Regions from separate parts of the Homo sapiens genome. Here region 2 is linked to region 1. The links are contacts of gene promoters, found by promoter capture Hi-C in human tissues and cell types (Jung and others, 2019). All regions are on one chromosome and are shown on one strand. The core of a region is centred on a gene start or on the middle of the fragment in contact, and the rest is flanking DNA. Distances in the headings are between cores, read along the strand shown.

Region 1 (4,726 bases), core at 2,215-4,714:
TAGCTAAGAATTTTAATTTTAAAAGGTTAAGGTCATACCAAACATAGATGTCATAGGATTCATTACTATTTCAGGCCTTAAATAAGGATTGAGAAACAAGGAACAAAAAACTCCAAGATCTTGCTCTTTGCATAATGATTCAGAGCAAATCAAATGGTTTAAAAGTAGTATTACAAAAATATTTATAATCCATTATAACAAACTTCTGCTTCAATTAATATCAACTTAGTTTCAGGGGATAACAGTATACTGGATGTTGTCCAACACAAGTACCATTTGATAGGATATCTTTTTTTTTTTTTTTTGAGTTGGAGTCTGGCTCTTGTCACCCAGGCTGGAGTACAATGGCGCAATCTCAGCTGACTGCAACCTCCGCCTCCCGAGTTCAAGCGATTTTCCTGCCTCAACCTCCCGAGTAGCTGGGATTACAGGAACTCGCCACTACACTCAGCTAATTTTTGTATTTTTAGTAGAAGTGGGGTTTCACCATGTTGGCCAGGCTGGTCTGGAATTCCTGATCTCAGGGCCTGCCTCGATCTCCCAAAGTGCTGGGATTACAGGTGTGAGCCACCACGCCTGGCCTGATAGGGTATCTTTTTTTTTAAATTTAATTTAATTTAATTTTATTTTATTTTTTCGGAGACGGAGTCTGGCTCTGTCACCCAGGCTGGGGTGTGATCTAGGCTCACTGCAAGCTCCGCCTCCCGGGTTCACGCCATTCTCCTGCCTCAGCCTCCCGAGTAGGTGGGACTACAGGCGCCCACGACCACGCCTGGCTAATTTTTTGTATTTTTAGTAGAGACGGGGTTTCACCGTATTAGCCAGGATGGTCTCAATCTCCTGACCTTGTGATCCGCCAGCCCCGTGATCAGCCCGCCTCAGCATCAGCCTGCCTCGGCCTCCCACAGTGCTGGGATTACAGGCGTGAGCCACCGCACCCGGCCGATAGGGTATGTTAACTTTGCAATACTTTCTTAAATGTTATGTACATACAAACTGTACTTTATACAGGTTTCCTAATAAGTGGTACATAATGTCAACAGGCATAGTGGCCTAGAGACATCAGTCTAGCTTTACCAATTTTCAAAAAACTATAAAAACGTGTGCTTTAGAAGAAAGTATAAACATACTACTTACATAAAACTCTTAGAATCATACCTTTCTATAAACACTAATAATTAGGGACTTAAAAAATCAATACCTAAATAAGTTCATGCTTTTTTTTATATTTTATTTGTTCTTTCTTATCTTTCAGTCCCCCATATGCCCTCCTCCAATAGAATGTTTGAAATTACAAAAGGTTCAGACAACACCATAGAAGGAAAGAAATTACAAATGGAACACTATTTTGTGTATATTTGTTTTTAAAAATTTCTGAATCTGCATTTAATGAATTTTTATTGAATGATGTGTTGAATATTTGTTACCTATAATTATTGAAATTATTGATAATTAATGATAATTAATGAAAACAGAAATCATGATATTAAATACTATAGTAACATATTATTGTTGTATTCAGTTAGTTTTACAACTGTGGCACAGTAGTAGCACCTATAATTACTTTCTAAATATGTTTATTGGGCCGGGCGCGGTGGCTCATGCCTGTAATCCCAGCACTTTGGGTGGCCCAGGAGGGCAGATCACCTGAGGTCGGGAGTTCAATACCAGCCTGACCAACATGGAGAAACCCCGTCTCTACTAAAAATACAAAATTAGCCGGGCATGGTGACGCACGGGTGTAATCCCAGCTGCTGGGTAAGCTGAGGCAGAAGAATCGCTTGAACCTGGGAGGTGGGGGTTGAGGTGAGCTGAGATTGTACCATTGCACTTCAGCCTGGGCAACAAGAGCGGAACTCCATCTCTAAAGAAATAAATATGTTTATTGTGAAATATAATTCATATAATGTAGAAAGATATGAATTGAAAAGTACGTCTTGCTTCTAAGACTCTGCATTTAGAACAGAGAAAAATATTTAATGGCCAAAAACTTCACATTGGTCTATGACATAAAATTACAAATTCAAAAAGCTCTGCAAATCGTGAACAGGGTTAATATGAAGAAAAACCACATCTACTAGTCAAATTGCTGAAAACCGAAGATAGAAAAGAAATCTAAAAAGCAGCCAGAGAAATAGCACATTAAATACAAGAAGGAGATCAGCCACTGGAATGACTTTTTTCTCACCAGCTGCAAAGAAGGTCCAATATGAGTATAAAAAAGAACATTATACAATGGAATAGCAAATAAAAAGGTAGAAAATATATATTTATTAAAATAGAAATTACTTCACAATTGACTATAGTTATTCTTTCTTTTCTGTCCCTTCATATCAAAAGTTTTCAAAACGCTTAAGCTGGTAGACCCTATGAGTGTGTGGCATTAGGCATCCCCAGCCTAGATTTTTGTTTGTTTGTTTGTTTGTTTGTTTGAGATGGAGTCTGGCTCTGTCGCCCAGGCTGGAGTGCAGTGGCACGATATCGGGTCACTGCAACCTCTGCCTCCCGGGTTCAAGCAATTTCCCTGTCTCAGCCTCCCGAGTAGCTGGGACTACAGGCGCACGCCACGAAGCCTGGCTAATTTTCGTATTTTTTAGTAGAGACGGGGTTTCACCATATTGGTCAGGCTGGTCTTGAACTCCTGACCTCAGGTGATCCATCCACCTCGGCCTCCCAAAGTGTTGGGATTACAGGCTTGAGCCACCGCGCCCGGCCCGGATTTATTTTTTAACACACCCAAATCCGCAGTCATTAAGTGACAAGACTTTTGTTTTCAACAATATGAAGTACTTAAAATCTGGATATTAGATTTTTCTCCGGTTTGGAAGATCAAAAGGTAATTAATTCATATTCAATAGCTCCCCTTCCACTACATGGCTCCTACACAGAAAAAAAGGCTAAATAAACAACACTAGAACCAGAAAGTGAAAGGGGGCTTTGGGGCTCTCTGCAGGAGGCGTCTACAGCCGGGGCCCAGCGCACGTACCATTCTTCGGCAAACTCTGGATCACCTTCACGGCCGCCTCAAACCTAGTCTCGTGCACGGATCTCGTGTCCGCCATCTCCAGCTGCCAGTGTTGGCCCCGGTCCCAAGGTCTGTCGGCGGGAATCAGGCAGCAGCAGCACCAGCTTTCCCAAGAGCCTGCATGAAACTGGAACATGGAGCGCAGCCGCGGATCAACATGCCCCAAAAGGAGGAGGCCCGGGAGCGAAGCGGGTCAGTTCCCCTTTGCCCTGCCCTATCCAGGCCACACAGATCGAAGCGGCCCGGCTCCTTCCTCCTCCCCCGGGGCGTGACTAAGGCCACGAATCCGGCCCGCGACGACAGCAAAACAACTCACCGAGAGGAAGAGCATGTCTAGCAGAAGACAGAGGGGGTCCGGGCATCGGTGGCCGCGGAGCCGCTCTCCCACCCTGGGGACCCTGGCGGAGCAGCCACACCCCCCATTCCGCCGGAGTCCGTCTGTCAGTCCGTGCCCTCCCCACAGCCCCGCCCCAGAGTCACCGGAGGACCCACTGGCGCCGCCGCCGCCGCAGCAGCAGTGCAGCAAACCCCACCCACCCGACCCGCCGCCGCGGCAAGGACGCGCGCGGTCCGTCTGTCCCCAGAGGAGGGTCCGGGAAGCGGGGAAAGGGGGCCACAGTCCCGGCTTGGTGCGGGGAGCACACTGTGCGCGCTTTTGTTCAGAAGGGGGAAACCGAGGCCGGACCGATGTGTCCGCTCTGGCAGCCGGGTGGACGAAGTGCGCGCTGGGGATGCGCGGTTGGGTTCTGCACCTGGGCCCAAAGCTGCACGCGACGGCACCGCTGGGCAACAAAAATGACTCTGCGGTCCCCAGCGCCTGCACTCTCCTAAGTTAAGGTTTGAGGAAGTTAAATGGGGCCTAAGCAAAGGGCTTTAAGTCGGGACAGGTTCTGTGAGAAACTCCAGTTCTGCCATTTAAATTATGTGACCTAGGGCAAGTCACTTAGCCTTTCCAGTGGCAATCGTGACACCCACTCTAAAGGGTAGATGGAGAAAAGCATTGGGGACCTTGGATGGAGGTGCTCAGCAGTCCCTGGCCCGCAGGTCTTCGACAGTTTTCGCTGCCCTGAGCCAAGAACGTCCGAGGAGCAGCCGAAGGAGAGAGGAGGTCGCCGGCTCCTAAACTGGGCTGGGACGGAGGGCAACTTCCCCTACACTACCCTTTCCACCCAGCCCCAGGGAGCCAGGCACCTCCAGCGGGATTTAATAGGAGACTGGGCATGGGGACGGCCGGGCACAGTGGCTCACGCCTGTAATCTCGATACTTTGAGAGGTCGAGTGGGGAGGATTGCTTGAGGCCAGGAGTTCAAGACGAGCCTGGCAACATGGCGATACCCTGGCTCTATTTAAGAAACCAATAATTAAAAAAAAAAATAAAAATAGGATACTGGGCGTAGAGGGCGGGGCCAATGAGGAGTCTTTACGGGTCGTCAACCCTAGAAAGGGGGTGCCCTGGGCCTTCAACTTACTAGCGCAACCCCCTGCGTCCTTAGGCATTTGGGAAGTGCCCCAGGCCGAACGTTGGTGGTGGGACTGACTAGGTTGTGGGGGGTGGAGTCCTGTAGCCCGGAAATCCCAAAGTCTCCCGGATGGAAGAGTCGTTTTTGTCAGTTAGGGGGATGGGTTAGGAGGGTTACTAGGAAAAATCTAGGCGCAGATCGTAAGTTACTCTTCCCTCTGAGCCGCGGCGCCGGCATTTAC
Region 2 (4,726 bases), core at 1,521-4,020, 140 kb after region 1:
ACACTCTAAAGCATGTAAATATTTTCTTGATCTTGACATTTTTGGTTCCATAATGTAAATTTATTTTAAGGTATTTGTGTAGCCTATTCTGGAAATACATGTTAGAAATCAGTGAGGTTTCTAATTGCCATGCCATACCACTTAGCTGAGACAAATTACTCTTTCTTCACCTTTAGATTGTAAAAGATAAAACTCTCCTTAGTTCATATATGAGATATGTGGAGTAACAGGGTAATAGTTGTTCTGTACTGAATTCCAAGGGCAAATAATGATAGAAATGAAATGTTACACTTTATTCCATCTCCATGATTTCAGACATTATAGGACAGGGTGAGTAAACAAGGCAAATAAAGCAAACACCTTTTCCCCCATTTAACCATATGCAGCAGTTTGACATTTTTTATGATCTGCAGGTTGACTTAATTCTTGACTTGAGTTGAAAGCTGCCAGCAGCAAACTGTGCAATTTAGACTTTTCCTCCATAGCCACTCTGAATATCTTTATTCCTGAACTACACTGTGAGCTCTGAAATGGTGTTCACTGCAACATTCTTGAAGCTTTCACATCTTAACCTCTTGTTAAGGCAGGGGATTGTTTTAAAAGCTTCTTCTTTGCTTATCCAGGCTGCCAGCAATCTTAACTGCAAGTTACCATGTAAAAATAAAATTCTGCTCTGAAGCACTGACTGAAACTGTTGTGCCCAGATCCCTTTCAGAGCATTAGTTCCCTGAGAGAAAAAGGAGGTCCTAACCAATTGCTTTCATGAACAATGACCCCAGTACAAGTGTACATAATGTCACTTGTAGCAAAAATCAAGAGGTCAGGCAACCTTGATCATCCTGACTAGTTTATCATTATTTTCATACAAGGTATATTTACAGCTGATCCCAGACTAAGTATTGCAATCATAATCCCAAGAAATTGTTCAGTTTTAGCACCCTGGGTTCCTAGAAGATACCAGAGCAAGTGAGAAATCATCATCTTTTTTTGTTGTTGTTGAGACAGAGTCTCGCTCTGTTGCCAGGCTGGAGTGTGCAGTAGCACTATCTCAGCTCACTGCAACCTCCGCCTCCCTGGTTCAAGGGTTCTCCTGCCTCGGCCTCCTGAGTAGATGGGACTACAGGCACGTGCCACCATGCCCAGCTAATTTTTGTATTTTTAATAGAGACGAGGTCTCACCATGTTGGCCAGGATGGTCTCGATCTCTTGACATCATGATCTTCCTGCCTTGGCCACTCAAAGTGCTGGGATTACAGGCATGAGCCACCATGCCCGGGCCGAAATCATCATCTTCTACAAGTGAGAGGAAAACATCAAGAAGAAGGAAACGAAACTCGCCTTGCCTAAATTCCTCATCAAATCTGATGGCTGTCTTCACAGACTTAGTTGACAAAATCCAGAGTTCTCAATTTCTTGATTTGAAGAATCCATTTTCAAGGTGACCATCAAGGTCAAGAAGACTCTTCATACTTTTCTTCACCATGGCCCGTGAACTCAGTCCTTCAACAGAGATTCTCTCTGTTGTTGCTTTCTGAACACACTGCAGGTAATGCTTGAAGAGGTTGGAGCACGGCTCCCCAGAGCTGTCGCCCTTGAGAAGCTTCTCCACAAACCAACAACTGAAGCATTGATCATACGATTGAAGCTCCATGTGTGTGTGAGTCTGTACGACATTGTTCATGGCAATGGTGGTGGTGGTGGCAATGGCGGCATACTCTCTCATGTTAGGTGTTCTTACCATGAAAACAGCAATACTGAAGCAACAAAGGGACACAAAGAAACTTTTGGAGATGATGGATATACTTGTTACTTCGATTGTGGTGATGATCACATGAGTGTATACATATGTCCAAGCTCGCCATATTATATACATTAATTATGTGAAGTTTTTAATTTATTTAATTCCAACTTTTATTTATTTATTTATTGAGATGGAGTCTGCTCTGTCACCCAGGCTAGAGTGCAATGGTGCAATCTCTGCTCACTGCAACCTCCGCCTCCCGGGCTCAAGCAATTCTCCTGCCTCAGCCTCCCGAGTAGCTGGGATTACAGGCACCCACCACCATGCCCAGCTAATTTTTGTATTTTTAGTAGAGACAGGGTTTCATCATTTTGGCCAGGCTGGTTTCAAACTCCTGACCTCAAATGATCTGCCCACCTTGGCCTCCCAATTGCTGGGATTACAGGTGTGAGCCACTGTGCCCAGCCTCAACTTTTATTTATTTTTAACTTTTATTTTTGTTTCAGGGGGACACATGCAGGTTTGTTCTACAGATAAACTGCATGTTCTGGGGGTTTGGTGTACAGAGTATTTCATCACCCAGGTAATAAACACAGCATGAATGAAACTCAGTAAGTAGCTTTTCAATTTTCACCCTCCTCCCACCTCCACCCTCAAGTAGGCCCCGGTGTCTACTATTCCTTTCTTTGTGTCCATGTGTACTCGGTGTTTAGATGTGACTCACAAGTGAGAAGATGAGGTGTTTGGTTTTCTGTTCCTGAATTAGTTCCCTTAGGATAATGGCCTCTGGCTCCATCACATTGCTGCAAAGGACATGACCTTGTTCTTTTTTATGGCTGCATAGTATTCCATGGTGTGTATGTACCACATTTTCTTTATCCAATCTACTGTTGATGAGCATTTAGGTTGATTCCATGTCTTTGCTATTGTGAATAGTGCTGTGATGAACATATGTGTGCCTGAGTCTTTATGGTAGAACAATCTATATTCCTTTGGTTATACCCAATAATGGGATTCCTGGGTCAAATGGTAGTTCTAAATTCTTTGAGACATCACCAAACTACTTTCTGCAGTGGTTGAACTAATTTACACTCCTGTCAGCATTAGCTTTTCTCTGCAGCCTTGCCAGCATCTGTTATTTTTTGACTTTTTAATAATAACCATTCTGACTGGTGTGAGATGGTATCTCTTTGTGGTTTTGATTTGCATTTGTCTAATGATTAGTGATCTTGAACATTTTTTATGTGCTTTTTGGCCACATATATGTCTTCTCTTGAAAAGTGTCTGTTCATGTCCTTTCCTACATTGTAGTGGGGTTGTTCTTTGCTTGTTAATTTTCCATTTTTATTTTTGATACAAGGGGTATGTGTGCAGGTTTGTTACATAGGAATATTGTGTGTTGCTGAGGTTTAGGGTATGGATCCTGTCACCCAGGTAGTGAGCACAGTACCTGATAGGTAGTTTTTCCACCCACCTGCCCACCTCCCTCCACCCTCTAGTAGTCCAGTGTCTATTGTTACTGTGTTTATGTCTGTGTGTGCTCAATGCTTAGCCCCCACTTATATGTGAGAACATGTGGCATTTGGTTTTCTGTTCCTGTGTTAATTCGCTTAGGATTATAGCCTCCGACTCCATCCATGTTGCTGCAAAGGAAATTATTTCATTCTTTTTTATGGCTGCATAGTATTCCATGGTGTATATGTACCTATGTGCAGTTTTTAAAAAGCCGATTATATCTCAATAAAGCTGATGGGAGAAGTCACTTGGAGAGTATCTGCATTGGGGAATGTTAAAAAAAAAAAAACAAAAAAACCCAAACAACCACAGACGGGATTCACAGAGAAAGCCTGCCTTCACAGAGTGAGCAACAGCCATGTTATGGTAACAGCAGGAATTTCCAACTGTGTGTCGTCTCCCTCTGCCATAGCCTCTGGAGGAGCTGGCCACAGGATGAGGAAAGGAGTAATGGAAGAGTAAATTGGAGGGAAAAAATATAATGCAACTCTTAAAACCCTTAATATGTCACATTTATAGTTTAAAATAATAAACTCTGGCTTTAGGAGAGGAGCCTCCTACCTGTCAGAATAAATACCACATGCCAAAAAACAAAACAAAAGGTCAAAGTCCGTGTCTCTTAACCGTGAATAAGCAATGTATGTATTTTGCCATTTTGTCCTTAGGATTTGTTGCAGTATCCTAAATGTGGGTTGTTCCCTGATCTTTAGGAAATAAAATGGGGTCACTGTAGCAGTAGATACAGTCATTTCTTCCTTTATCTGTGGACACTGTCTCTGTATAAAGTGGCATTGGTCTGTGCAGATCTGTGGCTGGAGATAGCCAGGAGAGGTGACCAAAAGCGAGGAAAGTCCATATGACCATCCTTACATAGGTTGACTCTCTCGGATCTTCTTTAAAGACACAGATAGAGTTATCAGCTCTGCTCTTCTGAACACATAGATGTAAATACAGGCATCTCCAAGCTTCATTTGTAAGAGTATGTGCCCAACTGCTCCCAGCCTAGTTAAACCCAGAAGAAATGTGGTAAAGCAGTACGCAGTACAACGTATCCTGTGTTGATCTTGGATCTTACATACGCACCCCTTTGTGCTGCCAATCATCAGTGATCTGACGATTTCTTTCTTTGGTCAGTTGAGGATGACTTGGCTAAACTAAGGCAAATAGCCACTGTTGATTAGTAACTTTCAAAATTCACTGTTTCCTTCTAACCAGTGACAAAGGGGACAGAGCGAGAAAAACACACCATGTGATAAATAGAGCTTTACCCTAGTAAAAAACAATCTGCTGAACAGTATCTGGTCTCAAAACATGTTTACAAAAGTCAATTAATTGGGAGCAGAGTTCATAGGAAGGAAACAACGAAGCTATTTCTTAGAGGACAGACAAAACAGTATTTCTCAACATTCCTGAAAGTTAGCATTTCATTACGTTTCAGCAAGAAAATAAGAAAGGACAGTTGGGCTAGGG

What was found. Contacts are between HindIII fragments. The study calls those that stand out against the background at their distance.
Region 2: a contact is called between a fragment that was not itself captured here and the fragment with the promoter of ACBD5 in region 1, in 1 of the 25 tissues and cell types used here (H1 embryonic stem cells).

What each region holds. Positions count from the first base shown.
Region 1 is chr10:27,237,333-27,242,058 of GRCh38, forward strand. ACBD5 (acyl-CoA binding domain containing 5) reads right to left here and starts at 3,465. Exons shown (of 13, transcript NM_145698.5): 1 at 3,342-3,465; 2 at 2,987-3,152. The coding sequence starts at 3,356. RefSeq lists enhancers at 2,517-3,019, 2,977-3,236, 4,687-4,726 and a silencer at 3,357-3,466. The HindIII fragment of the contact is 11,813 bases long and covers 1-4,726 here.
Region 2 is chr10:27,376,682-27,381,407 of GRCh38, forward strand. It overlaps the pseudogene TRIAP1P1. Among named protein-coding and RNA genes, the nearest start is that of PTCHD3, 35 kb to the right of the region's middle. The HindIII fragment of the contact is 4,381 bases long and covers 581-4,726 here.